Linked DNA regions of Homo sapiens: all the other regions are linked to region 4. The links are contacts of gene promoters, found by promoter capture Hi-C in blood cells and fetal thymus (Javierre and others, 2016). All regions are on one chromosome and are shown on one strand. The core of a region is centred on a gene start or on the middle of the fragment in contact, and the rest is flanking DNA. Distances in the headings are between cores, read along the strand shown.

Region 1 (3,735 bases), core at 776-3,275, 680 kb before region 4:
TGTATCAACAATAATAATTTGCTCTCAAACTTTTGTCCATTATTTATTTAAACTTCAGCTTTATTGTTCAAATTATTATTTATTTAACTTTGAAATCACTTAGGTAACTTGAATTTCTGTATACAATAAACAACCCCTAAATTACAATGTTTTTGAATTTCTTTGTTATACATAGGCCTTTAGAAAAAATGAAGAATAAGCAAAAATTATAATCACTTTTGTTACTTTATTTCTGTAACTATCATTGCTTTAGGTTTATCTGTTTCTTGGAATGTTTTCTTCTTCTATTCCTAGTTTATTCCTAAAACATACACTCTTCAGCTTCATTTATTTTCTTCTAATCTGCAGTATGTTCTGGAACGAGCAAGTCTTTCTCTTAAAAAAGCAGAGCTTGCAGTGTTACCTTTATATATAATAAATGTAAAACATATTCATTGTGAAATATTATGTAATAATGTAAGGAGAAAATATAGCAACTATATATACACACAGATGCATACACACAAAACCCACAAATATGCATCTATCAATTTCAATCATATTGCATATAAGTATGCATAGTATTATGTCTTAGTTTTCTTCTTAACTGTGTTTTGCAACTTTCTTTCATGTCATTGTAACTTATTCCTATACAATTTATAATGGTTGAATATTTTATCACATTGTCACATTGTACTTGATTCAATCCATCTTATTATTAAATCAGTACTTGCTCATGAATCTTTCTTTCCATGTCTGATAGTGTCTTTGGTTGAATTCCTAGATAAAATTGTTAGTGAACCATAATAAATACTTTTAACGTTTTAAAATACTTCTAAGTTAATGTTTCTAAAAAGACTAAGCTTCAAATTTTTTAAAATAATATATCATTTTGCTTGTATAATTCTTACAGGCATGAAGTATTAGGAGCAGCTTTGTCAATTTTACAAGACAGATATGATATTTATTTGAATATAACATTAATGCTGATAACAATTTTTCATAGTTATTAGTATTTGCATTTCTTCTGCTATTAATAACCTATTCACCACTTTCTGCCTCTTTTGGGTATTATAACTTCTTTATTTCTGTTCCATTTATCTGTCATTTCTTGCACTACTAACATTTTAATGATTATAGATGTAAAGTATAATTGTCATCTTATAGTGTGTACTATACTATACAGTGTGTATACTACAGTGGATTTTTCATTTTATAATAATACTCTTAATTATCAAATTTCTCACAGAATATTAATATCACTTTAATTAAAATAATCCTACTGAAGTTTGTTTTAATATCATTAAATCTGCATCATTTTAAAATGTGTTCTATACGCCACACATCACTGGTTTCCTTGGAGTATGGAAAATAGCCTGCAAATGTTTTGAAATTTTCAGCAGAAGAAGACAGTGGAATACATTTTTCATTTATATGTTGAACATATTACATTTAATATTAATTATTATTTTTAGAGAAATCACTCTAAATAATGATTAGCATAGTCTTAAAAGTTGCAGATGAGGACTGTGGTGTTGCTTTCAGCTGACTAATTCATGAAGGAGGTTACAGTACTACTATAGGTTCTCCATTACAAAGGACTTACTAGAGATAAAATGGAATTTTCTTGAAAGTGAATCCAAAGGCCACTTTATCTAGAGAGAAGAGAAGGTGGTCAAATTTTTGAAATATACAGTGAAAATTGTGAATATGATTAAAGCATTAAGACTAATGGCAAATCCTCTTTGGTTCATGAGAAAAAAAATTCATGGGCACAGAACTTAAGAATCTGATTTACTGATATTGCTTGTCCTCTGCTAAGTGAGAATATACTCAAACAAAATTTTGAAAATAGAAATGGGTTTTAAAAATTAATTTATTTGTGATTCAAAGGAGGCTGAAGACTATTTCTGTAAAGTGTCTTGCTCAAGTGAATTTAGCACTTGAGATAGTGAACTGAAAATATTCAGTATCTTAAATATTTTTACCGTTTCACTTCATAGCTTTAAATTCATTTAATTTTAACATAAAATCACGGTATTTTAGAAAATGGCTCAAGTGGTTGACAATTTTTCAACATTTGAAAGTTCTCTTTATTTATTGCAGAGAAAAATTAATGGCATATTATTGGACAAATTTCAAAAAGAAAAATGCTAATATAACCAAAATTGAATTAGTGATTTTTTCACTAAAAGTATATAATTTTTAAGGTTTGTTTACTTAAACACAAACTTTATAATATTCATCTCTATTTTATCTGAATATCAATATTATTATATGTTTCCTTGCTACCATTTATAATGCCACATAAATGCTAGACTTTTCTAACTTAGTGTGAAAGAGAATAAGACAAAATATGAAAAAAGTTATATATTTTAAAAAGCACAAAAAGTTGATCAGAACACTCATCTAAAGCCATTTTTACTGAATGGATATTTAAATAGTTTTATTTTAACATTCACTAAACTTTATGTGACGTTCATGAAACTGCATGTTTTAATTTTGTGATAAATATATTGCCTAAATAATTTTGCTATTATTTTTATCAGATTTGATTCTGAAATCATGCACCCTAGAGAAGATTCTGAAACATAGGTTCATGTACATGAGGCTTATTGGGAAATGCTTGATAACAAAATCTGGAGAATAGGGTGGGAAACAAGGTGGGGCAGACAGAGAAATTGAACGCTGGTACAGTTGCAAAAAAGACTTGGCCAACCCCACAGAAAGTTCTGGAGCTGAGATAGTCTTTCAAAGTTCTCTCAAATTCAAGTAATTCGGCCAAGCATTCTTATCCTACTGTACCCTCCCCTGCTTCTATTCATTAATTGGATGTGGGCTGCCTCTGATGATCAAATTCTTCTGATGGCTACTCAATTATAACTGACTTAAAAAAGAAAGCAAAAGTATGACAGAATAAAATTTTTGTATTTCATCTTATCATTTAAAATAATGAATTAAAATACACTATAAAGCAAATTTAAATGATAATTGGTAGGTCTACTTTTGAACTAATTGTGGACTTCTAATTATTCTACTTTTTCTGAGCATCTACTAAAGAGAAAGAGATCCTTTTATAGGATTCAGAAAAGTTTTGTTAAGAGTTAGCATTTGTTTTAATTCTTAAAAAATGAAGAAAGTTTTGAGAGGCGGAGGTGAACCATCTACATCATTCCAGGCAGAGTGAAGTGCATTACAAAGAAATGGAATGCCAAAGTGCAAAGCTTTTTTTGGAAACGATGATTATCTCAACTTGATGAAACATCGAGCCTGTGAACACACATAGTGTTTGATTTTTAGAAAATTAGATTGTTCAGTATTTCAGATGTCAGCCTGTCTCTGTACTCACATCTTGGGGGCATAAAGAAGACGACGCTGTAATGATACTATTGCCAAACGTTACTGTTTCTTCTCTTGCTCTCAGGCTCTACAGCAAGCTCACCAATGGTCCTATCTATTCTAGCTCCAAAATATATTTCCAACCTTACCACTTCTCACCACTTCTACTACGACACACATAAACCTAGCCGTCATCTTGCATCATCTGCACTGTGGCCGTAACCTCCAAACAGGACTTATTAGTATAGCTTTTACCTCCACAGAATCTACTCTCCAGATAGCAGGCAAAACTATCTTTTAAAATATATATTAGATGATTTCACTCTTTATTTTGATGGCTTCCAGTGATTTTCCAGGACAGCAAGAGTAAACATCAAAATAATGACCATGAACTACAATGCCAGATGGGATATGTTT
Region 2 (3,884 bases), core at 434-2,933, 660 kb before region 4:
ATGAAGGGATGTTGGATTTTACTGAAGGCCATTTCTTTGTCTATTGAGATAATCATGTGGTTTTTGTCTTTACTTCTGTTTATGTGATGAATTACATTTATTGATTTGCATATGTTGAACCAACTTACATCCCAGAAATGAAACCGACTTGATCGTGGTGGTTAAGATTTTGATATGCTGCTGGATTCAGTTGGGCAGTATTTTATTGAGAATTTTTGCGTTGATGTTCATTGGCCTGAAGTTTGTGTTTTTGTTGTTGTATTTCTGCCAGGTTTTGGTATCAGCATGATGGTGGCCTAATGAAATGAGTTAGGGAGGAGTCCCTCCTTTTAAATTTTTTGCAACAATTTTAGTAGAATTCCACCTTGACTTTTCTATTTGTATCATAGAATAAAGTGATTTTAATCAAAAGCGTCTAAGGCTATAAAGTTATTCACAAACACAACTGGAAGCTGATGGTAGGGGTTGTAATTAAAATGCTCTTTAACCACTTTGTGAACACACTATTCTTGTTTTATTTTCTTTTATCTGCATTAAAACACTACATATTATTATTATTATTTGCATAGGTTATTGTATTATGATGGTAGCCCACAATAGACACCAGTGTAAACTGCCACATGATGAATGACTCTGTGCCCACCCCAACTCTTTTCTTTTTTTAAGCAGTAATTATAAGAGGAGACAGATGGCAAAAATTGGAAAGTGAATATTGTCACATGATGGAAAATATATAATGAAATCAGTTTCTCAATCTTATAAAACCTGAAGCTCATTTTGAGCTCCACCTCTAGTTTGAAGAGGTGCCGCATTTAGAAATGAACTACATTTCTCTTTCTTTTCTGCCTTTTGAAGGGAGAGGAGTCACTGTTCATCTATGACAACATAATTAATTTTATATTGCAATTACTTTTAAATGATGACAGCTATCGGTAGCCTGAAACAGCTTCAAAAGTGCTTTTTAGCTATATTTCTACTTAGCTTATCATTGTAAGGCTTCCAGTTGTATGATACCCCCTCCCAAAAATGAGATGCTTTAAAATTCAAGTGTCGAAAATAAAACAAGTAACATCAGTTTCACAAAGATAAGATGTAATTAACTTTATTGTGAGTCAGTCAAATCTGGGCATAACTGTAAACATTTTATAAACTCTGCTAACTACTTGCCATGTAAAGATAGCTTATGCTTTGAATAGTCTTCCTGATGGACTCATACCCTTATCAAATTAGCTTATAATTAAATCAAACTGTACTAAATGGTTATATAACCTTTTGGATACAATTAATACAAGAAGACTATTAAAAAACATATCCCTGGGGCTAGAGTTAGCCTTCAATATTTAGCCATGTTATTTAGAGCAAAGCTTTTAAATCCCAGTGTCAATTAGCCAACATTTCTGACATGTTTTAGACAGTAATTTCCTATTTATTTACTTCTAGAGATCACCACAATTTTGCTTAGATTATACTTTTATACTTCTGTTTTTTGGGTCTTGGGTTGTGATTCAAAAATGCCATAATTAGTCATAATAGCAAATTTTAAAACTGACATTTTTATTTCAAGTAAAACATAATTAATATCACTTCTAATATTGCTTATGATAGAGAAGCATAAAGTCTGTATTTTTCACAAAATTAATGAGAAGTGAAATAAATCTGTTATCAGCCATAAATCTGTAAATTTTTTTCACTTTATTTAAGCCTTGAATGCCAATTCAGCTACTTCTTATGCCATTAAATTTAATCATAAGAATGCTAACAAAGTTCAGCCCCATCAAAAGTTTAAACTTGATACTCTTTAGTCCTTTATTATTCAAATAAATTTCCTAACAAACTCATTCCTTCAAAAAGTGCCTCACAAAAGAATATGAAGTTTAAAAAAATACAGAAATATATTATATAGCAAATCTGTCTCCATTCACAGAATTCAGATTCATCCATATGGTGAATTATGGTGTATGCTCAAATATGCTTTTAATTGAAGAAAAAGCCTAAAGCTTTCACAAAGACTGCAGTATATCAATTTTATCACTGTAATACATCACAGAATAGGTTTGTTTTCATTCTTTATCCTTGGGTTATAGGAACCCTGTCTCTCTATTGACATATGGTGGCACATAATCTTCATAGACTTTCTTCTACTTTCCTTCTTTTGTAAGCCATTTTAAATGTTTCTTTCTACATCACTAGATGTAGTAAATATTCAGTCTATTATTTCTCCATAAAATTGTAAAGTATATATCAGTTTAATTATACTTGATTACATGCATTTATAATATATTCAATATATAAACTCTATACGTATGTATAATATATTGATCACATATCTGTGTGTGCATATGTTCATAAATTACCATATTGATTCAAAAAGGAGCCACCTAATATTATAACTGTAAAAACGATTCTATTTATATATAGGCAGTGGCTACAATTCTCCATACTTTTACATTTTTACATTATTCTAAAATGCAAGTTACTAAAAATGATAAATATTGGAATATTATCTTTTTTCTATTATTTGCTTTTAATATATTCATCTAGGAACTGTTCTACTATACTTCATTGAAGGGATTCCTCCATTTATAAGTCCTTCCTCCAATTTTTAAGACCTCCCCTAGATATTTTAAAAACTATTAGATCTACTAAATGTCCAATAATTTCATATATGGGTCTGAGGATCCCAGATCTTTTTACACTAAAAAAGAATATTATAGCACATTATAAACATTATAAACTAATAATTACTGGTTTAGTTTTTAATAACAAACTGTAAAAGGACTCTGTGAAAGAATTCTGTTTCTACATGTCTTAAATCTGGTAGGATGTCCACAAAACCTCAACATCTCTAATTAGTGACATTGGATTAATTTTTGTCTGCATGAGATACACTCAAGATAAGTACTAAAAATGTCCTAGACTTCCCTTATTTATAGATCATCACAATGTTTGTAAGCACATTAAAATATTTTATAAGTCATTGTATAGAGATACAGTCCCTGATAAAATACAGATGGAGGAACTTTATAATAATTTAAAAAATAGATAACAGATAAACATTGGGAAGACGCTGTATGTATTTATTCCCAGTGATTATATGTTTTGTAAACTGATTAAACACATGGGGCAGGGAAAACTGAGAGAGGAGAACTTGCTTATTCATTCCTTTGAACTCCTTTATATTCGAGACCATTAGGTCTAATGGATTTGAAATTCCATGCTTATTTTTTAAGTGAAGGCCTTGTGACACACAGTAGTTTGCAGAGATTGCAGAAGATTTACAAAAATAAATGTATAAATCTAATTCAACCACAGCATTCATTATGCATTCCTTTTGTAAAAGGCATGTGCTCAGAGATTTGGATAAAAATGAAGTGTATAAAAATGAAATATGATATGGTCAATGATATAAACCAACTAACATAGAGAATGCCATAAACATTCAAAGAGAATTTGCACACAGTGAACTTCAGATAAGACATTACAGTAAAGAGTAAGGCAAGTATGATCCAGTAAACAGGGTGCTTGCCTGACAGCCAGAGGTAGGGGATTACTGCACATTCTTAGCTGCTATAAACTCAAATAAATAATTGAAACTCTCTAAGCCAGATTTTCCAACATAAAATCAAGATAATATCAAACTTGTAGGGATTTTGTTGGCATTAACAAAATAATTTTACTGACAGTGATTATTAAACTGCAAAGCATATTATAAATGTAAGTAGTTTATTATGATGAAGTGAATTCACAGTGGTTCTTAAAATATGTAGAGCTAGTCAGTTATTTTACGTGTAACAAATTCACAATGTCATTTCATTTTAACAGTTTTATTGAGGTATAATGAATATACCTAAATGGCCCATTATTAAAGTGTACCATTTCATAAC
Region 3 (3,934 bases), core at 883-3,382, 660 kb after region 4:
AAATTCAATAGCTTAACACAACTATTTTTTTCACAACTCTGTGATGGGCTGAAGATGGCTGAATTTTGAATTTAAAGGCTGAATTTTGACCCATGAATTATTCATTCTCCTTGGTCCAGTAGGCAAAGCCATGCATGGTCTTTTTCTGACAAGGGAAAAAAGTTCATAGGCTAAAATTTTAATTGTACAACTATTTTTAAAGCTCTACTTGCATTTTTTTCCTAAAATCTATTGGTTAAATCAAACACATTGTCAAGCTCAGATTTAAGGGACAGGAAAGTAGATTCTGTCCTCAAATATGAGGGAAGAGGGTGAATCTTTTAAAATAATAATATAGTTTGCCACAAAGATTAACCCACATATTAATGAAAAACTTTGAGCTACTGCTGAGGTCAATGTTAAATACATATACACACACACACACACGCAAACACACACACACACACATCTTTGCAAAATACAGTGTCAAGATAATGAGAAGACAAGTTACAGACTAATAGAAAATCTTTGCAAAGACACATCTTATAAAAAACTGCTATCCAAAATACAAAATGAGTGCCTAAAATTCAACAATAAGAAAATGACCAACCTTATTTAAAAAAATGGGCAAATTATATGAACAGACTGGAAAAAGATACACAGATGGCAATTAAACATATGAAAATATGTTCAACATCATATGTCATTAGGGAATTGCAAATTAAAACAATGAGATAGTACTAGCTACCTATTAAAATGGCCCAGATCCAGGACACTGATGGCAACAAATCTTGGTGATGATGTGGAGCAATAGAAATTCTGTTTCATTGCTGGTGGAAATGCAAAATGGTATAGCCATTTTGAGAGATAGTTTGGTAGTTTCTTACAAAACTAAACATACTCTTACCATAAAATCCAGCAGTCATGCTCCTTGAAATTTACGCAAATGAACTCAAAACTTATGTCCACACAAATACCTGCAAATGGAGGTTTACAGCAGCTTTATCCATATTTGTCAATTTGGAAGCAACCAGAATGTCTTTCAGTAGGTGAATGGATAAATAAACTATGGCGCTAAAAAGAAATGATCTATCAAGCCATGAAAAGACATGGAGGATACTTAGAAGCATTTTACTAAGTGAAAGAAATCAATCTGAGAAGTCTACATACTATATGATTTCAACTATATGATGTTCTGGAAAAGGCAATTGAGACAATAAAATTATCAGTGGTTTCCAGGGATTAGGTGGGAGCGAGAGAGATTAAGCAGAGCAAAGAGGATTTTTAGGTCAGTAAAGCTATGATACATAATATGACAATAGTAGATACATGCCATCATACTTTTCAAAACCCACAGAATATACAACACCAAGCCTGAATTCTAATGTGAACTACGGACTTTGGGTGATAATGATGTGTCAGTGTAGTTTCATTAATTTTAACGAATGTACCATAGTAGTGTGGGATGTTGGTAGTTGGGGAGGTTGTACGTGAAGGAGGGCAGGGAGTATATGAAAACTCTGTACTTCCTGTTTAATTTTGCTGCGAACACAAAACTGCTCTAAAAACAAAGATTATTGATTTTTTAAAAAAGTAGTCATTACTACTTCCAAAGTTGTCCACAAATATTTATAAAATGTTTTATTTTGTGTTAGTAGAAGCATTGGAAAGCTTAAGGTGGCTGTTCTCACTGATATATTTAATATGATTTTCTGATTTAGTCTACTACTCAATTTCCATGGCAATGTTTTAGGTTAAAAAAAAGTATCAGGGCATCAGTAAGCAACATATTCTGGCCAGTGCTCTCAAGTGTCATTCATGTTTATTTCAGCTTTCACAACATTGCAGACTACATTAAATATATGTTGGAGGCAAACTTTGACTCAAACTGACTTGAAAAACTCATTCAAAATAATAATGTCTTCATTTTCTGCTTGATATATCCCTAGTAGCGATAAGGAAATGGAATATTGTCTCTGTCTTTTAATTCAGTCGTGGTCACCAAGTCATGGCATTTTCAAAGCAATTCCTCAAATAGAAGAAAATGCATTTTTTGTTTCTTTGAGGAACAATAGAAACTCAAATTGAATTATCTTTGTATAAATATCTTGGCTTACACCTTTTAAAATAATCGTGTTTGAACATACTGGCAATTGTTATGGTTCATAAATAATATCATCAACAACTAATACTTATTAAGAAGTATCTGCATTTAAAGCTGTTAGATACATTAAATAGGCATCCTAAACAGGATGAAAATGCCTTATACAAATAGAAAAATTCAAACAACACAAGCTATAAAATAGAGTATAAAATACAACCAATATTTATTTACATTAAACATACTACTTTTCTTTCCGTGGTTTGTGTTCTGTGAAATTATGTGGGAGAAAAATTTCATATTGCTTTTACTTAAATGAAAGAACCAGACAAAGCCTGGAAAGTTTGCTGAATTTTATCAATAACACGTATTTGTAAATATATTGTGTGCTTATTATTTTTGCTTGTCTTTCATTTTTGGGCACAGCATCTCCAAATTTTGGTCACAAATGATGCATAACCCTCCAGAAATACAGCTTAAAAGAAGAAAATGAAGATGGAAAAATAACATACTAAAAAATGTACAAAAGCTTTTCCCATGCTTAATCATTCTATCCAGAGCCACATTTATGTTTCGGATCCTTTTACAGCAGAGGTTGGGAGGTCAATAAAAATATATGATGAGATTTAAAATAAATTAAATTGTATATTTATTGTTAATCTTTACACACGAGTGAATCAACTAAAATTCCTTACCCAAGGATGTGTTTCTCAAACAGCCTTGATATAGAATTAACATATAGAAACTTCTGAGGGAAATGTAAGGAAACAATATAATGGTCATTGCTTTAGAACTAAAAGACAATTTTAAAAATTAATTCAAATATTCATTAGCATCCAGGAATATGTAATAGGATTTTTGGTCAAGCTCACACTACCTCAAACTTGCTGCTCACAATATGTCTTAAGGCAATTTTTCCAACCCTTTTAGATCTGAAAATAGAAGATTAATGTTCAAGAAAATGGAGAATTGCAAGACACCATAGAAAATATGAGATTTGAAAATCTGACCTTAGTCTAGAAGACAGGATTTAGACAGCAGCATACCAAAAGTAAATGAAAGAAAGTAAATTATATCTTTTTGACACTTCAAATTCTTGTTGCCTAAATCTTAGTCAAGTTGAAGCTTATAAGATGATGATGTATTTTCGTAAGAAAAATAATTTGGTGGATTATTTAGTAGGAAAATTTATGAAGATAATAAAAAAACTGAGAAATATGATTCAATAATGGGGTAAAATACAATAATAATTTTAAAAAGCAACATTGGGTAAGAACCTTATTTTGTTGTATCCACTGAATTTCCTTTCACAATGTAAATTATTATGGTTATTGTGCATATACAGGTGATACGGCTGTTATGTTTCCCATGGTTTAAATAAGGAGTCAATAGGAAAATGTAAATGAGGCTCTATCATTTTCTAAAAGATAAGCTGTCCTCTGAAAAATCTATTTTCTCCTTATGTGGCTTACTTGCAATTGTCAGGAATGAGACAGATCCTAACATTTTTTTGGGCACCTTTTATATATCAAGTATCATGCTAGAAGTTGTAAATGTGCTGTCTTAGTTGTAATCCTACAAAATACTGACCTAATTATTGTAAAACTACAGCAAATAAAGGTAACTTTCTATATATAGATAAAAGGTATTAGTTTTTATGATTCAGATTTAGAATACTATTGTGAAAATTAGCACATTTTCTAAATATGTATATTTTATGCAAAGATGGAAGATAGTTAAAACACACAATGGGTGCTTAGGAAATACAAATATATTGCTTTGTGAATTAACTAGATTGGCAAAGTGGGTTAAGTAGATCCATGACAGTGAGACTCACTTTTATTTTTAGTTTGT
Region 4 (3,947 bases), core at 411-2,910:
GTATCTTTCATAAACACGCACACTTACCTCTCACTACAGCGCGTTTATGCTCTCGCGCGCGCAGACACACACACACACACACACACACACACACGAACTGGGAGAATCACAGGCCCACACACAATGCCACGTACCCCGAGAGATCAGAAGCCTTCCTACGCCTGCAGATTGAACTCACTCGCCACTCAAACCTATGGACACTCGCAGTGTGCCCACTTCCCAGAGCGGAACTCCTTCCAGATTCTAACGCCTTCCTCTGCTGAGCGGGCAGCTCCAACGCGAGCCAAGGGACAAAGCTGGCCAGGGTAATGCTGTGGTGCACGGGACCAAACCCATTATTTGTGCACAGTGCAGGGAGCTGCAAACTCAAGTTGGGCAGTCCTCTAGACTAAGCCTTGTTGATAGACGCTCACGCCCATGATAGCCTGAGGCAGTTAAATGGAGCCACACGCAACAGCAATATCCTGTTTCAGAACTAGCGCTGTGGCACTCCCCACTGCTGAGAGGGGACCAGATTCCCGAAAAGGTCAGATCACCAATCAGTTGCCTAATCTAAGGAACTTGTTCATTGAAAGATTTGGGCCAGGACCGTGGTCGAAAAAAATCAAGGAGCACGACATACTGGTCCCGGGGACACAGCTCCCCTGACACCAAGGGATGGCAAAAACAGGGTCCCTTATACATGCGAAGGAAGAACGGGCGGCTCGGAGACGGCCAGTAGATGGCGCAAGAACTCTTCCCTTGTGCAATCTTAACCCTTGCGTGGTGCATGGGGGAAGCAGATCCAGATGTATAGATACATACATTTTTCGTTTTGAAAGAAACCTCCTATTTACATATTTGGTACCGATTCAGAATTAAGACAAATGGGTTTGTTCTAGATAACTACCACAGATAAAGTAGTTTAACTGCGGCACACACAAACTGAAAAGGGGGTTGGGAGGATGAAAGGGAGAACTATTTGAGGAAACGACATTGACTTCCCTCCCCACCCCACCCCCGCCCAGGCCACGGATGAAATCCGTTTCCCGAATCATAAAAACCCGGTGAAGGGTTTACACGTAGTTATTTGAGTATGTAAATACATGTGTTCAAATACATTCTTTTCCGTGTGAAGGCAGAATTTATTGAGAAAATTCTCTGTGATTTCCTTTTTCAATTAAATCACAGGATAATAAATGGGAGAAGCCTGCCTGAAATATACTGCAACTACAGTAGTAACACATGTCCCATTATAACGACGTGGGCATCGATGGAGCCCGATTCATTATCGTCACGGTTTCCCCAAAAGCAACACAGATCCTCCGATTAAAATATTCCTTTGACATGCTTCTGTATTCGCAGCCTGCAACGGAGAGCTCACTAACATTATTTCTTGGGCTGCTTTTACAGGCAGAATTGATCTATTCGGGGAAAAAAAGCAAGCCCCTTAATTTCAAATATTGTGTGGAGTTTATCAGAGAGCAGAGGTGGGCTTTAAGAGGCTCACTAGTGGTTTCTGGTGGTTGCTATAACGAGCCAGAATTGGGGTAGATTTTGGTGGAGGGGAAAAAACGCACAAGAAAAGACAGAATCCAGAGTAGCGGAGACTTTGTGCCCCCGTTGGAGAGATGGTTGAGTCCTCGTCAAGGTTGCTGTGGTATCCCAGAAACACCATTCACTCCGAGCTGTGACCGCGCACCAACAACAGCAACAACTCCACTGCGCCGGGCTGAGGAGCAGGAATTAGGAGCTCGCGAATAATATGAAAGGGATCCGCAAAGGGGAAAGCCGAGCAAAGGAATCCAAACCCTGGGAGCCTGGCAAGCGAAGATGCGCTAAATGTGGCCGCCTAGACTTCATCCTGATGAAGAAAATGGGGATTAAAAGTGGATTTACGTTTTGGAACCTCGTCTTTTTATTGACGGTGTCTTGTGTGAAAGGTAGGTCTGCTTTGGGGGTCCCCTCCGCTTTGGATGGAGGTGGGCTGACTTGTAGATGGAGAGAGGCTGGCAGCTTACTTTGCAATTTGCACCGATAAAATAATCTGATAATACTAAAGGAGTTGATTCACAGCTCGTTCTCCCCCCCTCAGATAGGAAATGCATTTTGCTTGCCAGATTTGGCGTTCAATGCGGTGATTGAGCTTGTGCTCAATAAATATTCTTGCAGTATGCTCAAACGAATACGTGAGTTGGTTAGTATAGCCTCTAACTAGTGGATATCCAGGCAGAATTCCTCTGCAAGACTTTTCTTAGTGGTGAGGATTACCTTGATTTCTTGTCAGATCACTAGGGCTTGAGGCTTTGGGTGGAATATATATATTAAAGACGCTGGTCTAAATGCTTTTTAACCCTTTCAGGGAAGAAAGTTATCGACGTGCTAGGAATGTGTTGATTTTAAATGCATTAGGGCACAGGGATCTTCCAAGCACTGCCACATCAACATGAATGTCTGCATGCATATGTATGTAAATTGGGCTTCTATGCAATGTTAAATGTAGGGGAGCTTCCCTAGGACCTGTGGTAGAGGTTTGGCAAAAAATGAGGCTTTCGAAGGGTCTGAAATGCCATGAAGTGTAAAGAACCACCTTAAGGGATGAATGAGGTAGGAGGAAAGTCATTAGCTGACGACCAAAAGAAAATCCCCAGCAAGTCTCAGCGTTCAGACAGGTAGAGTGAGTGTCACATGCACAGATAGGGGAGGGGGTAGGTGGGATGTAAAAATGTATTCCCAAGCAGGAAGGCAAGGGACAGTCAGGATCATGGGAAAAAGAGCTGTCCTTAGGGAGAAAATAGATCCATAGCTCTCTTCCACAACTTCTCCGGCACCCTGCTGCCCATTAATTGCTGCAAAGAATACTCAGGAGGTGTTTATGACTCATGCCATCATTTTTTGAACAATCACCTCTCCATACTCATGGCAGCTCGAATAGACGCTATGGATGCCGCTTTCAGTGAAGCTAGTTTCAAATCCCGGGTGTCTGTGTGTCGCGGGGGGGCGGGGGATCGCGGGAAAGGGGGTGCTGTTTTGGCCCAGGCGCGCCAGGGCTGTCAACACAAACTGGACGCTTCTTCCTTTGTAAAGGAGTGCCTCTCTGAACTGCAATCGGGCCGCGTCTCTATGAAACAGTTTATTGTCCAGCTTGCAGCTGGCTGTCCCCCCACGGAAGGCAGCTCATTTGCATTCAGTGGAAATGATAATTCATGTTTTGGGAGGAGGGAGCTGGAGAGGTTACCTTTCCCTCTACTATAACCAATGATGGGTGGCATGTCTAGAATTTTAATTTACATCCCAAAATGCCAGGAAGTCAGTCGCCCCGGTCTCTGTGGCAGCAACTGCCTTGTAATCCCAACCTGCTCCTTGAAGCTTGATTTTTCTTTTCTCTCTGGGGCCTCAGAGCAGCTCTGAGCCGAAAAGCTTGTCCTAAGTGGCACAACTACACTGCCAAATGTACAAAGCACGGCTCAGGTTGCTTACAAGGTTTCTTTGTCGCTGGCTCGACGGGTGAGGAGCCACACATTTATGCTTAGTTCGCCTGCCACTGGGAGTTGGTGGTTAATGGATGGCCCTGGGGCTGCCTGCTAGACGCGCGCTTCGCGTGGGGGAGGCGCGAATAGCCAGCAGCAGCCCTGGCAGAAAAATGTAAGGGTGGCTCCTGTGAGAAGATGACCAGGGTTTAAGTGCGAGTTTTCATGTGATACCTGTTGAGCCAAAACACATTCGGGGGCAGATGAGGGGGAGGGAAGTCTCCGAAGCGGGGCGAGCATTACAGCCTGACTAACGCTGATCCGCGCCGCCTGCAATTAGAGCCCCGGCTGCCCGCACCTACCGTATTTTCCGAATGAGATGCGCCGATAGAAAGGAAAGGCGCGTTAATTTACTTTGGACTGATATAATCGGTTTAGCTTTGGAGATATTGAGAAGGAAGAGTATGTCATAGCCTTCTTTGATCCTGTGCAAAATCA
Region 5 (3,836 bases), core at 1,193-3,692, 690 kb after region 4:
ATATTGAAATTTGAACTTCACCAGGGCTACGACTTTTACAGGAAAAAACAATGAAGCAACACCAAAAAAAAAAAAAAAAAAAAAAAAAAAAAAAAAAAAAGGGAAGTGTGCAGACAAATAATCATAATGATGGATGTGAAATAAAAGAAATGAGAGAACATTATGGGAATAATGAACTAGAGGAAAGAGTAGAATTATGATATGGAAATTTTAAGGGTAGTACCTTTCTTGGAAATGACACAGTCTTGTATTTGAGCATGTAAATGAATGCCTGCGATGGAGTAAAATAAAATTTCCTTGGAAATGAGGAGGTCAAGTAAAAAGTTCTTGGGTAGAATGTCTACATGAATTTTGAAATCAACAGAAAGAAAAATAGTGAATAGAGACTTGTTAATGACAACATGAAGAGGTAGCTAGTGGTAGAAGCAAAGGAATTTCTATCCTTCCAAGTCTTTTTCTCTCTCCTTCCACTCCTAGGACAGCATGTTGAATTATATTGTCAGATACAAATGCTGGAGGTGGTTGCTACAGGGGTTGCCTTTAGGCAACTTTTCTTTATAGTCATGCTCACAAAAGACCCTAAGGCAGTAGAATGCAAAATATACAAATGTAATAATAGAGATAATTCAAAAATAAATAATATATATAACTATTCTATTATTAATAAAACAGCCATAAAGAAAGAGGTACTAATTACATCAGACAAGTTCAGTGTAAGAAAGAACAACACTATATATTTTAAGGAGAGAGGATTTTAATAAAGCATATTAGGTGCTTTCAAATTTGTAGACAGGCTGGAAGAGCAAGCTGGAAGATGGTCCTCCAGGGATGAGTCACAGAATACCACATGGGGAGCTACTGACTCTATCACAATCAAGAAGGTAGACAATTAAGTGCTGTCTGAAATCACTAAGAGCAAAGACACACCACTCACTATAGCTAAGATCTAGGGACCAAGAAACCAAGACCAGGAAGCTACTTCCATTTAAAGTGCTTTTCTAACACCAGTGGAGCAGAACAGTTATTGCAGTAATAATGCTGGCAAAGAGAGGGGTGAACTCCTATCTCTACAGTCTTACTTGTCAACAGAAAAAAATAGCCAAAAGCGTCAGGAGATTGTTCTCTTATTTATTCCAAATATCTGGAGGCTACATCTAATTGGAATAATCTGATTAGCATATAAAACTATAGTTGCAAGGGAATCTGATAAATACAGTTTTAAGCTTTATGAGTTTCCCATACTGAAAAGGTGAGTTCAAAGTTTGTGGGAATAACTGTCAACTGCCGTTTGATCATAACACTGCCCATCGATTTATTTTCCCTGCAAAAAAACAAAATAATTACCTGTATTAAGAAAAAAAATTAGCAAAATGTTTCTTTAGTTCTTATTTCCTCCCTGTTTTTCTTCTGTGATTTTGGAAATAAACATGTTCTTAGAAGTTATGTTAGACATTTAAAGTATCTATTATAAAATAAATACCCTACATTATCTAGGGGCATTTTGTATTAGTAAGCATTATAGTCATATTTCCTAAGGACTCTAAACTTTTTCAGTAGTATATAAAAATATTTGAAAATTATAAAAAATAAAAACAACTCCAAAAACAAAAAAAAGAAACTTAGAATTGACATTAGTAAATTTTTGCATGAATATCCACACAAACTCATTTTATAACTTCATTAATTGCTGAATTTAATATTCAGTAAAAGTTTATTACTATGAAATTAATATGCTGGGTAACTTTATCAACCAAGCATTTCTGAGTATGCATAATAATTTTACAGAAAGCATAGCCAATTATAAGTAAATTGTACAGTAGTAAAAGACCAAAACAATATACAAACCCATTTACTTATTTTTTTACATTTGAAAAAATACTTAAAATATATTATTTTGCATTATTTTTATAATTTGGAACATATGATATATAGTAGAAACTATTTTTTCTCTTGTTTGATATGATATGGGGTGCATTCTTCAAAAGGAAGAAAACCTAGGAACTACACAAGTTTTCAGTGAGCCCTCCCAACATGATATATTTTTCTCTCAATTACAACTTACTATAACTACCTGGACTCTTGAGAAAACACTCAACAGTGTTAAGTACACACTGTCACAGTTATTCCCACTCTCACTTCCTAAGGGTACTATCAAATTGTACCAATTTACAATTCACCAGTTTGTTTCAGGTCTGTTTTGCAGCAGCTGACCACGCTTACCTGTATCATAACTGTGCTTCATTTTGCACTAACTACGTGCACACCCCCGTTTGTCCCCTCAAACACATCATCTTCAGAGTTATATTTGTAAATCAGATATGTGACCAAGTCATTTCCCTGCTTAAGAACCTTAAATAGGTTTACAGTGTGCTCAAGATAAAGCTGGAGCTTCTTAATTTGACCGCCGAATCATCTTCTCTAGCCAGACCAGTCTGCACAGGTTACCTGCAACACATCTTGCCCATTGCTGTCTCTTATCTTTGTTTGTAATGCTATTTGCACTTGGAAAGCTGTCTCATTTCTTGTTTAGCTGACTTTTCTTCATTCTCTAAATCACCCAGATCTGTGAGGTTTTATTTTGTCACCTACGCCCAAAGTCGTCTCTTCATTTTATTTAATAATTAAAAATAAATAACTGCCTAAATAAGAAAGAAAAATAGAAAAAAAAATCTCTATATTAAGGACAGAGTTGTTTTCTCCCTTTCAGTACTCCATTTGAAACCATGACTTACTGTCATACAATTTATAAATAATTACAATCATTTAATCTATAAAATAGGTATTTTATATTAGTAAATGTGATTACTGAAAGATAAATACTGTATTTTAAACACAAAAAAAGTCTTCCTATGTTTTTCCCAAGGAAATAAAAGTTAAAAATGAGAAATAATTTCAATTACTTATTTCAAATCAGTACTGTTCTAATATCTATGCATTAAACTGTTACATCCAGAAATGGCATGGGAATTATGTTTTGAGAGTAAGGCATCATTCTTTAAGATCTGATGATCTCTGTAAACTTCTTTCTGATGTAGAAGTTCTTAGATTTAGTTTAGGCTCTCAATGACATTCTTTCAACAGTAATCCTTCAATATAACAGAGACAGAGCTTGCTGTGGTATGGACAAATTGTTGCAGTACATTTAATACTCTGAAATTTCCAGAAGTACATCTGAGACAATTTTTTTAAATGTTCATTCCTTTTTAGTTCTGTCTTTTTTTATATGACAACCTTTTCATAAAAATTATATTTAGTATGCTGCATATAATAACATTGCCTAACAGACCATTTCATAGATTTAAGGTTCTCTTCAGGAAATAATTTTACCTGGCGGTTATATCAGATTTGCTTGCTTGTACATCTGTTTATCTTATCTTGTTTAATCATATGTTTTTAATGAAATATCCTGGCACCAGTGAGAGGCAATTGTCTTACTTGGCATATTCCATGAGGTATGCAAAATTGAACCAGGTGTTTATCAGAACGATTTTATTTATATGATGCAAGTATTTAAAAGAAAAAGCACATGGTAAAAACTATTTTCCCTTTTAAAGAAACACATTTTAAAAATCCAGTTTATATCTTAAATGTTAAATGAAATTTCACATTACTAGAGAGGCAATTCTGTCTTCTCTAAAAATCAGAAAAAGAGAAAGCTTTGCTATATATTAAAAATTATAATAATATCTATTTTGGTATTTCCCAAAGGATTTTTTTAAGTTTTTGTATACATATACATAATCACAAGAATCACAAGGAAATATCCATCCCGATGGCTGAGATGTTATTAGGCTTTTTTCCTTGTTGAAGACTGCCTTAATCCATAGCGTTATTTA
Region 6 (4,210 bases), core at 386-2,885, 680 kb after region 4:
TGATATCATGCTGTATTGTCTTTCTGTTATTTCTGGCACTATAGCCCTCTCACTGGTCTCTCTATCCCTATTATATGCTTTCTTCCTTTCAAATTTATCTTTATGAAACACAACTTTGATTATGTAATTTCCTATGTCATTAACAGAAACCAGCCAAAATTCAAACAAACAATAACAACTTGATAACTTTAAGTGGTTTATTTCATGTAATCTATTCTATAATAAAGTACAAACTTCTTCGTATGCCATATTGTATTTTTTACAATCTGCCCACCTCTTATTTTCAGTGTGTTTACCAAGAAAATATAAAACAACAGAGAATCTGGCAATTTAATTAAATAGAAGTCAGGTAAAGAGGTCTACTAAATATCTGTTGCCTAGCTTAAACTATTTAAAAGCATTGACAATTCACTGCCATATCCTCCATCACATTTAACACAGTGCTATGGACAGAACAGCTGCTTGATAATACATGCTTGAATTGAATCATCTAATCCGATATCCTTTATTTATGACAATACATGTACAATGAAAAGTAAAAGAATTTTCCCAATATGGGTAAAGAATCCAAAACTAGAACTTAAGTCTCTGTAAGCAAAGTAACATATCTGCTGCCTCGTTCTCATAATTAAAAAGATGATGCAGATAAATTTTAGTTAAAGACTTCACATAATAAAGTAGTTCTTAGTTCAGAAATAAGTGTGTATGATCAAAGACACAAGAATGCCATCTGGTGGTGACTTACGCAAAGCATCTGTATTAAATGACCTCTACTGCTGGCAGAAGGTAAACCAGAAGGTTGAGGTTCATAATAACAACTTTTCAAGCATGATAGATTATATTAAAGGTGAAAATCTTATAAATATACTATTGTCCACGTAGCTGTCTTTGTGAACTAAAACATTCACCTTCAAGATTTTCGGTTGCAGTAAAGTCAGGATCCACTGGCAATACCACAAGGCCAATTGCATTGATTCCTCATGCACTTACATACACATGCACATACACATACACATATATACTCACATGGATACATATGTATATGGAACATGGTGTATTAATACACTAGCACAACTTGCACAAATGATAAGTAAATAAATATGGGTGCATGCACAACGTTTCACTGATGGAGATGCAAAATAAAAAATGTTTGTATAGTATAGTTTTAAAGACATGAATTAAGCACAGACTTAAAAAAAAACTTTTTGTAAATATGGTTCACAACTTTTTAAACTGCTTTCATACAAATTACAAGAGCCAGAATTTTGGCAAATATTAACATCTTGATTTATGCTTGACTAGGAAAATAGAAGAGGGGTAACACTTATCATGAAAAATATTTACAGGATATTTTATCTCTGGTATAGATAGATCCTAGTAGCTTACTTTGAAAATATTGTGGATCAGACAGTAAAATGAAAAGGAGCTAAAAGAATAAATTAGCTAAGTAATGTAAAAATACATTCTACATACTTTTCTAAAAACATATTCATAATATTGAAGTTAAGAATTTAGCAGTGTATTTCAAACCAAACTAGAATCAACTTTTGAAATAATTCCATTGGTGGTTTCCCTTTTTTTAAATGATAGAGATATTACTGTTCAGTGGCATGTTTAATGAGAAATAAAAGAAACTATGGCATGAAACTACCAGTAACTACATCTCGAGTTGGCTCTATGTTAGTAAATAAATTAGAAAAATTGAAAAGGTAATTTGAAGGTGTCCCATGGAAAATTGGAACAGAGATTGTGTCTGCTTCTGTTGAAAAGGGATATAAGTGAACTCTTAATCAGTCTTCAGCTTTTTTGTCATGGACATTCTTGTACTGACAAAGACCATGTTCGGAGGGCACGATTCTTGAAGCTCATTTGAATAATCACATCTTCTCCAAGGGAATCTTGTCCTTTACTATGACTTTAAAAAGAAGAGTTTCATCCAGAAACAATGCCTCAAAAGACTTTTAACTCAAAGCAGAATGCATTTGAACTAGAAAACCCTTGCAGATCTGCTGGGCTATCCCTCCCCTAAAAGAGCAGCACTGGCCTGGCTGTTCTGCCTCAAGATGAAGATTGGTGCTGGAGATTATGGTGGGAATAAGTCTACCAAAATGTAAAAACACCTTTAATTACAAATTGCTTTTAAAACTCATTGAAGTTCAAGGGGAAATGTGATGATAAGAATATTTTTATTTGTACAATAACTGATTGCATCCAAGCAATGCAATATGCACTGTTAATTTAATGGGCTTCAATTTCCATTAGCAAATATTATAAATCTTTTATTAATGGACGTTTTACATTTATATGTAATAACTTTTCATAGAAGTTATGTAGAAAACCTTTTGGTTATTGATAATTTAACAGTCAGGTTTAGCATGAAGTATAAATGAAGAAAATAATGTGACAACTGACACATTTCATTTTTCATTGAAATATTTTACGTTGTCCCAACAAATAACTGAAATAAAGTGCCTGCTTGAAGTCATCTGGGTCTATCTTTACAAAAGGAAGTGAGAAATCCTTCTTCTCCCCATTCTCCTAGTCCCTGTCAGTGACTGCTCTTGAAGAATAAAAAGTACATATTAATTCATCTCACTTTGCTAAATAAAAAGGTTTCATTCCTAAAAGTTTGATCTAATGTCTGCTTGCTATATTGATTGTTATTTGTCACAATATCTGATTCTGAAAATTTTTAGCAAAATTGATTATAGAATAGTGTTTTGGGAGTGTGGTGGCAATGAATGCAATGGTTAAGAATTTAGTACTGGAGTCACATGGCCTGGTTTATTATTTGGATTCCAATACTTATTAGCATTGTGACCTTGAAGAGTTACTTACCTTGCCTCAGTTTCCAAACCTGGAATATATGATTCATAACAGTATCTCATAGTGTTGTTGAAAGAAGCACATTTAAAGTACTTAGAAAAGTGCCTGACACCCACAACACTAAATAAATAATAGCTATTATTCTGAGAATGGTAATTATGAGACACAATCTTGCTTAAAAATAGGATTTCTTTCAGTCAAGATTATATTCTGACAAAGAAAATTACAGTGAATAGCAAAAAGATCACTAAAAGGCTGCGAAAATAACACATTTTACAATAATAGTTTGAAAATAAAATCAATTTATAGTTTCCAAATTGAATAGCATATGGTACTTGATACATTAATCAAATACAGAATGGGTATTCTATCACAATATTATGTTCTATCACCATATGCAATTGCTGTTTAGTAGCTAATCTTTAAATATTGCCAGCAAAGATCAAATCATGTAGTAAGAACCAAATAGAATTTCAAAAATTGTTTCTGTACATTTCAATGTAATATAAATGTTATGAATCACCATAGACGATTTCTTTATCAGTCTCAAGACTCAAATCTACATTCTGGTTTCTCTTCAGGTTGTATAAACCTTTAACTATTTACGAACCCTGAGTTCTGACACTAATAGAGAATTTTTGAAGCATATTATAATTATTTATGATGATAATATCACTAACTCTTCTATAGTACAGAGAGCTTTTCCTAGGATGGGTCATCAAAGGCATGATATGTGTATCACTTAATATAATTGGAAAAGCCTCCTTTATCTCACAGATGTTTATTTTATTGATCCTGTCTTCCTCCTGAAAGTCAGAACCAAGGAGGACTTTTATTAATTTCTTCAGCTGTAAATTTAGGCCTTTTATCACTAACTTGCCTTAATTAAACCAAAGCTTGTGTAATAGAGTAATGCAAAACTATAAATCTAAGAACAGTATTACTCTGATAGAAATCTATATATCTTCGAAAACATGCTATTTCCAGAGTTATAAAATTAAACCCTGTCTTTGAATTATTATTTTGTGTAATAATTTCACAAACCAATTATATAATCCTGCCTCAACACAAATACAAATAGGAAACACAAATTCTGTTTTGCATTTATTTCTGTATCTTATAAATGCAAATCATTGCTTAAGTTTGTTAATAAAATAAATACCATCCCCATTAAAAACTAGTATTCATCAAACACTTTTCATGTGTGAGATACCATGTTAAAATCTTCATGTGCATTATCTCCTTTAAATGTTATCATGAGGTAGAAATTATTATTTTCTGTTTAGCATATAAAGAAATGAGGCTTGAATAGCTTAAATAACTTGGAAAATACCTTATTATTATGAAGTTGAACAGTAAAGTTTGAATTCAAATGGTGTAACCA
Region 7 (3,937 bases), core at 69-2,568, 640 kb before region 4:
CCTTTACATAAAGATGGCATAATTTATTTGTCCATCCCATTGTGGATATGCATTTGGGATGTTTACATATTTTTGCTACTATGAAAATACAGAGCTGAATATTCTTATATCTGACTCTTGGTACACAAGTTCAAAAAATTACCCATTGGCATATATCTTAGATTGAATTGCTTGGTGTAGAAAATGAACATTTAATCTTATGATATAAAATGTTAAATTGTTTTTAACATGGCTAATTCAATATATACTACTAAAAATAATATTACTGTGATCCTATCGTACTACATTCTCACCCATATTTCTTATTGTTAGGCTTTATAATTCACTATAATCTTTAGGAAGGAATATAAAATCATGCTTTGAATTAACATTTCCCTGATTACTAAAAAGGTTGGTCATGACTTCTCTTTATGACAAATTTTGAACATGTTTTGCCCATTTTCTACAGGATTGTTTTACTCTTTTATATGAATTCATAGGGAATATTTTATACATTCCAAATATTAATCCAGTGAATCTTCATTTGGTATTTGAATAAGTGTTTGCAGATTCCGTATTTGCTGATTCCATATTTGCAAATTTGCCTCCTTGCCAAAATTAACTGGTAATGCTACAATCAATATTTGTAGTGCTTTGTGCTCATTAGCAGATATGCACGGAACAGCAAAATATTTGAGTTGCGCTTTGAACATGCACAATCCCAGCTGAGGCAGACCAAGTCGACATTCTGTTTTCAGGTTTGTGCTCTCATACTATAAAGAAGCACTCTCTTCATGGTCTACATAGTGTCATATTTCTCATATTTGTGTGTGTGTGTGTGTGTGTGTGTTTTGCTGGTGATTTCAGCATTGAAAATGCCCCCTAAGCATAGTAATTAAGTGCTGTCTAGTGTTAGTAAGTGCAAGGAGGTAATGTTGTGCCTTATAGAGAAAATACATGTGTTAAAGAAGCTTTAATTAGGCATGAGTTGTGCAATTGGCCATAAGTTATTGTTAATTAATCAATAATATATATATATTAAGTAAGGTGTTATTAAACAAAATCATACATAAAAGAAGGTTATGCATTGGTCAGTTGATAAAAATGTTGTGACCACAGGCTCACAGGAACCTAATCCTGTATCTCCTCTAGGAGCAATATGTCAGTATTTGTAAAATTAGTGCTCAGGGAGATTTTATAACACTTATTACTGCAGAGAATGAAAATCAACCGTACTTCGTTGGGAATATCTTTGTGGCTTCTCTCCTCATTGCTTTTATAGGATTATGGGAAAGTTAAAATTACAAATTTCTGAATTTGAATTTGAATGAGTGTATCTATTTTCCTCTGTATAGTTTGTAGCTTTATTTCTATGTGGTTTAAGTAATATTTCCTTTCACATGGTCAATTAAAAAAAAAGCTCTCATTTTCTTTCTTAATAGCATTTGTGCATTTCTTAGTCTTACCTTTTAATTGAAGTCTTTAATCAGTGTAAAGTTCATTTTTGTTTGTGGTATAACATAAGGAGTTTTTAGAATTGCAAATATTTGCTGCAAAATGTATTGATTACCACCATTTTTTGAGCTGTCTGATTTTCAAGACCCATTCTGTTATAGATTAAGTACTACATATACAACAAATTGTTCTTATGTTGCGTATTTTCTGTATTTCTGCCCTTCTGCTTATATCATCCTGTCTTAAAGCTTTATATTCAATTTTGATTTTGACAGAAAAAAGTCATTTAAATTTTAAATTCTTTGCAAGTGTCTTGATTATTTGTGACCCTTGTTCTTCCATATTCATTTTAGAATGAGTGTGAGGCCAGGTGTGGTGGTTCATACCTGTAATCCCAGCACTTTGGGAGGCCGAGGCAAGTGGATCACCTGAGGTCAGGAGTTTGAGACCAGCTTGGACAACATGATGAAACCCCATCTCTACTAAAAATACAGAAATTAGCTGGGCGTGGTAGTGGGTGCCTGTAATCCCAACTCCTCAGGAAGCTGGGGCAGGAGAATCGCTTGAACCCAGGAGGCAGATTGCAGTGAGCAGAGATCATGCCACAGCACTCCAGCCTGGGTGACAGAGTGAGACTCTGTCTCACAGAAAAAAAAAAAAAAAGGGGGTGTGAGAAGTCTCTCTCTCTCTCTCTGTCCCTCTCTCTCATACACACACAAACACAGACAAAAACTGTACCTTTTGAAATATGATTTGAAATTGCATTTAATCTATAGATAGACTTGAGGAGAACTGGCATCTATATGATAGACTGCTAATCTATTCTATAATACATCTCACTTTTTTGTAAGTCCCTGTTACATTTTCAATACAATTTTGTACTTTTGTCTATGAAGGCATAATTTTTACCTTCATTTATTCTAAAAAAGTTTACATTTTATTTGCCATTTTTGTTTTTTTGGCTTATATTATTAACTAATAACTAGGGATTTTTACAAATTCTACTTATATAATGATTTTGTAATCAGAAAATATTCTTAATATATTTTCATTGTGTATTTTTGGATTATTTTTATGGTTTTCTCCTCAAGCAATCATGATACCTGCAAAAATTGCCTTTGTTTGTTTTTTCTAATTTGATTTCTTTTCCTGAAGAAGAATGGGTGTCAGGAGCATTCTTGTCTGTTTCCTCATCTTATAGTAACAACTTTCAAAATACACCCTTCAACAGTGTTTCTTTTTTCTAGTTTTATGTGTCTGTCCTTTATTAGCTCAAAATTATCCTTTATTATCTTTTTTATTTTTTTATTGATATCTTGATGCTTAAAAGTTGTGACTATATGTTGAATTTTATTTAGCACTTTTCGTGCACTTATGGAAATCACATGATTTTTCTATTTAATTTGTTAATATCAAAACCTCCGTAATTAAATTACTAATATTACACCAACCTTGCATTCTTGGGATAAACCTTATTTGTCCATAATGTATTATCATATATACACACTGCTGAATGCAGTTTACTAATATTTTATTTATAGTGTTTGCATTCACTTAATAAATGAGGTAGCAATGTCTTTGCCTGAATTTAGTAAAAATATTATCCTAAACTTTTCCCTGGAAGTATTTGTTTAATATTGGATTTTGTGTTTCTTAAAAAATTATTATAAAATCACAGAACATTTATCTGTATTTAGAGTGTTTCCTTTGGTGAAATATTTTTCCATTTATTACAACTTATATTTTAGCTGTGGAAACACTTAAGTTTTCCTTTTTTTTATAATTGAATTTGACATGAATTAGCTTGGATACAAATATTCATATATAAATGCTTACTTTAAAATAAAAGCGCAAAATGCATATAGGCACAACCCTTCTGGCTTAAAGAGTAAATGATGAAGACATAAAATTTCCGTAATTAGAAAGAATATATGCTGACATATTGCCTATAAAACTAAATAAAATTGAATTTTATCACTGAATGTAGCTAATTTGTTCTTATTAGTTGTGCGTGTATGTGTATGTGTGTGTGTGTGTTATTTCTTTTTATTAGAAGGAGATAGTAATGACTATGACTCTCTCATATCCTTCCTTTCTTTTCTTTTTTTTTGGTCCTTTGTTGCCTAGGTTGGAGGCTGGAGTGCAGTGGTACAATCATAGCTCCCTGCAACCTCAAACTCCTGGGCACAAGCAATCTTCCCACCTCAGCCTCCTGAATAGCAGAGACTACAGACAACCAACACGCCTAGCTAATTTTTAATTTTTTTCTAGAGACAGGGTCTTGCTTTTTGCCCAGGCAGTTCTGGAACTCTTGGGCTAAAGCAAACCCCCTACCTCGGCCTCCCAAAGTTCTGGGAGTAAGCCACTGTGACTCACTTATTTTATATTCTTATAGGTTAATACAAGCAACTAAATTTCTTTCCACCTCTAATAGTTCTTCAGGTTTGATTTATATTTGAGGTAGATTTTGCTTATCGTCCCTCTGGATATATAATAATATTGC

What was found. The method cuts DNA at HindIII sites, captures the fragments that hold promoters and counts their contacts. A CHiCAGO score of 5 or more calls a contact.
Region 1: a contact is called between a fragment that was not itself captured here and the fragment with the promoter of CSMD3 in region 4, in 1 of 17 cell types (megakaryocytes). The highest score is 5.2, in megakaryocytes.
Region 2: a fragment that was not itself captured here is called in contact with the fragment with the promoter of CSMD3 in region 4 in 1 of 17 cell types (megakaryocytes); the score reaches 5.6 in megakaryocytes.
Region 3: a fragment that was not itself captured here is called in contact with the fragment with the promoter of CSMD3 in region 4 in 7 of 17 cell types (M0 macrophages, M1 macrophages, M2 macrophages and 4 more); the score reaches 10.9 in M0 macrophages.
Region 5: a contact is called between a fragment that was not itself captured here and the fragment with the promoter of CSMD3 in region 4, in 1 of 17 cell types (M2 macrophages). The highest score is 5.3, in M2 macrophages.
Region 6: a contact is called between a fragment that was not itself captured here and the fragment with the promoter of CSMD3 in region 4, in 8 of 17 cell types (M2 macrophages, megakaryocytes, M1 macrophages and 5 more). The highest score is 24.4, in M2 macrophages.
Region 7: a contact is called between a fragment that was not itself captured here and the fragment with the promoter of CSMD3 in region 4, in 1 of 17 cell types (megakaryocytes). The highest score is 5.0, in megakaryocytes.

What each region holds. Positions count from the first base shown.
Region 1 is chr8:114,117,013-114,120,747 of GRCh38, reverse strand. No RefSeq gene overlaps it. Among named protein-coding and RNA genes, the nearest start is that of CSMD3, 680 kb to the right of the region's middle. The HindIII fragment of the contact is 2,361 bases long and covers 845-3,205 here.
Region 2 is chr8:114,099,663-114,103,546 of GRCh38, reverse strand. No RefSeq gene overlaps it. Among named protein-coding and RNA genes, the nearest start is that of CSMD3, 660 kb to the right of the region's middle. The HindIII fragment of the contact is 633 bases long and covers 1,367-1,999 here.
Region 3 is chr8:112,775,675-112,779,608 of GRCh38, reverse strand. All of the region lies in intron 13 of CSMD3 (CUB and Sushi multiple domains 3), which reads left to right. Among named protein-coding and RNA genes, the nearest start is that of MIR2053, 130 kb to the right of the region's middle. The HindIII fragment of the contact is 959 bases long and covers 1,653-2,611 here.
Region 4 is chr8:113,434,652-113,438,598 of GRCh38, reverse strand. It overlaps CSMD3 (CUB and Sushi multiple domains 3), which reads left to right and starts at 1,660. Exons shown (of 71, transcript NM_198123.2): 1 at 1,660-1,922. The coding sequence starts at 1,745. RefSeq lists enhancers at 226-726, 739-788, 2,566-3,076. The HindIII fragment of the contact is 6,354 bases long and covers 1-3,350 here.
Region 5 is chr8:112,743,448-112,747,283 of GRCh38, reverse strand. The region is part of intron 13 of CSMD3 (CUB and Sushi multiple domains 3); the gene reads left to right. Among named protein-coding and RNA genes, the nearest start is that of MIR2053, 100 kb to the right of the region's middle. The HindIII fragment of the contact is 2,433 bases long and covers 1,226-3,658 here.
Region 6 is chr8:112,758,618-112,762,827 of GRCh38, reverse strand. All of the region lies in intron 13 of CSMD3 (CUB and Sushi multiple domains 3), which reads left to right. Among named protein-coding and RNA genes, the nearest start is that of MIR2053, 120 kb to the right of the region's middle. The HindIII fragment of the contact is 4,178 bases long and covers 1-3,724 here.
Region 7 is chr8:114,078,177-114,082,113 of GRCh38, reverse strand. No RefSeq gene overlaps it. Among named protein-coding and RNA genes, the nearest start is that of CSMD3, 640 kb to the right of the region's middle. The HindIII fragment of the contact is 732 bases long and covers 953-1,684 here.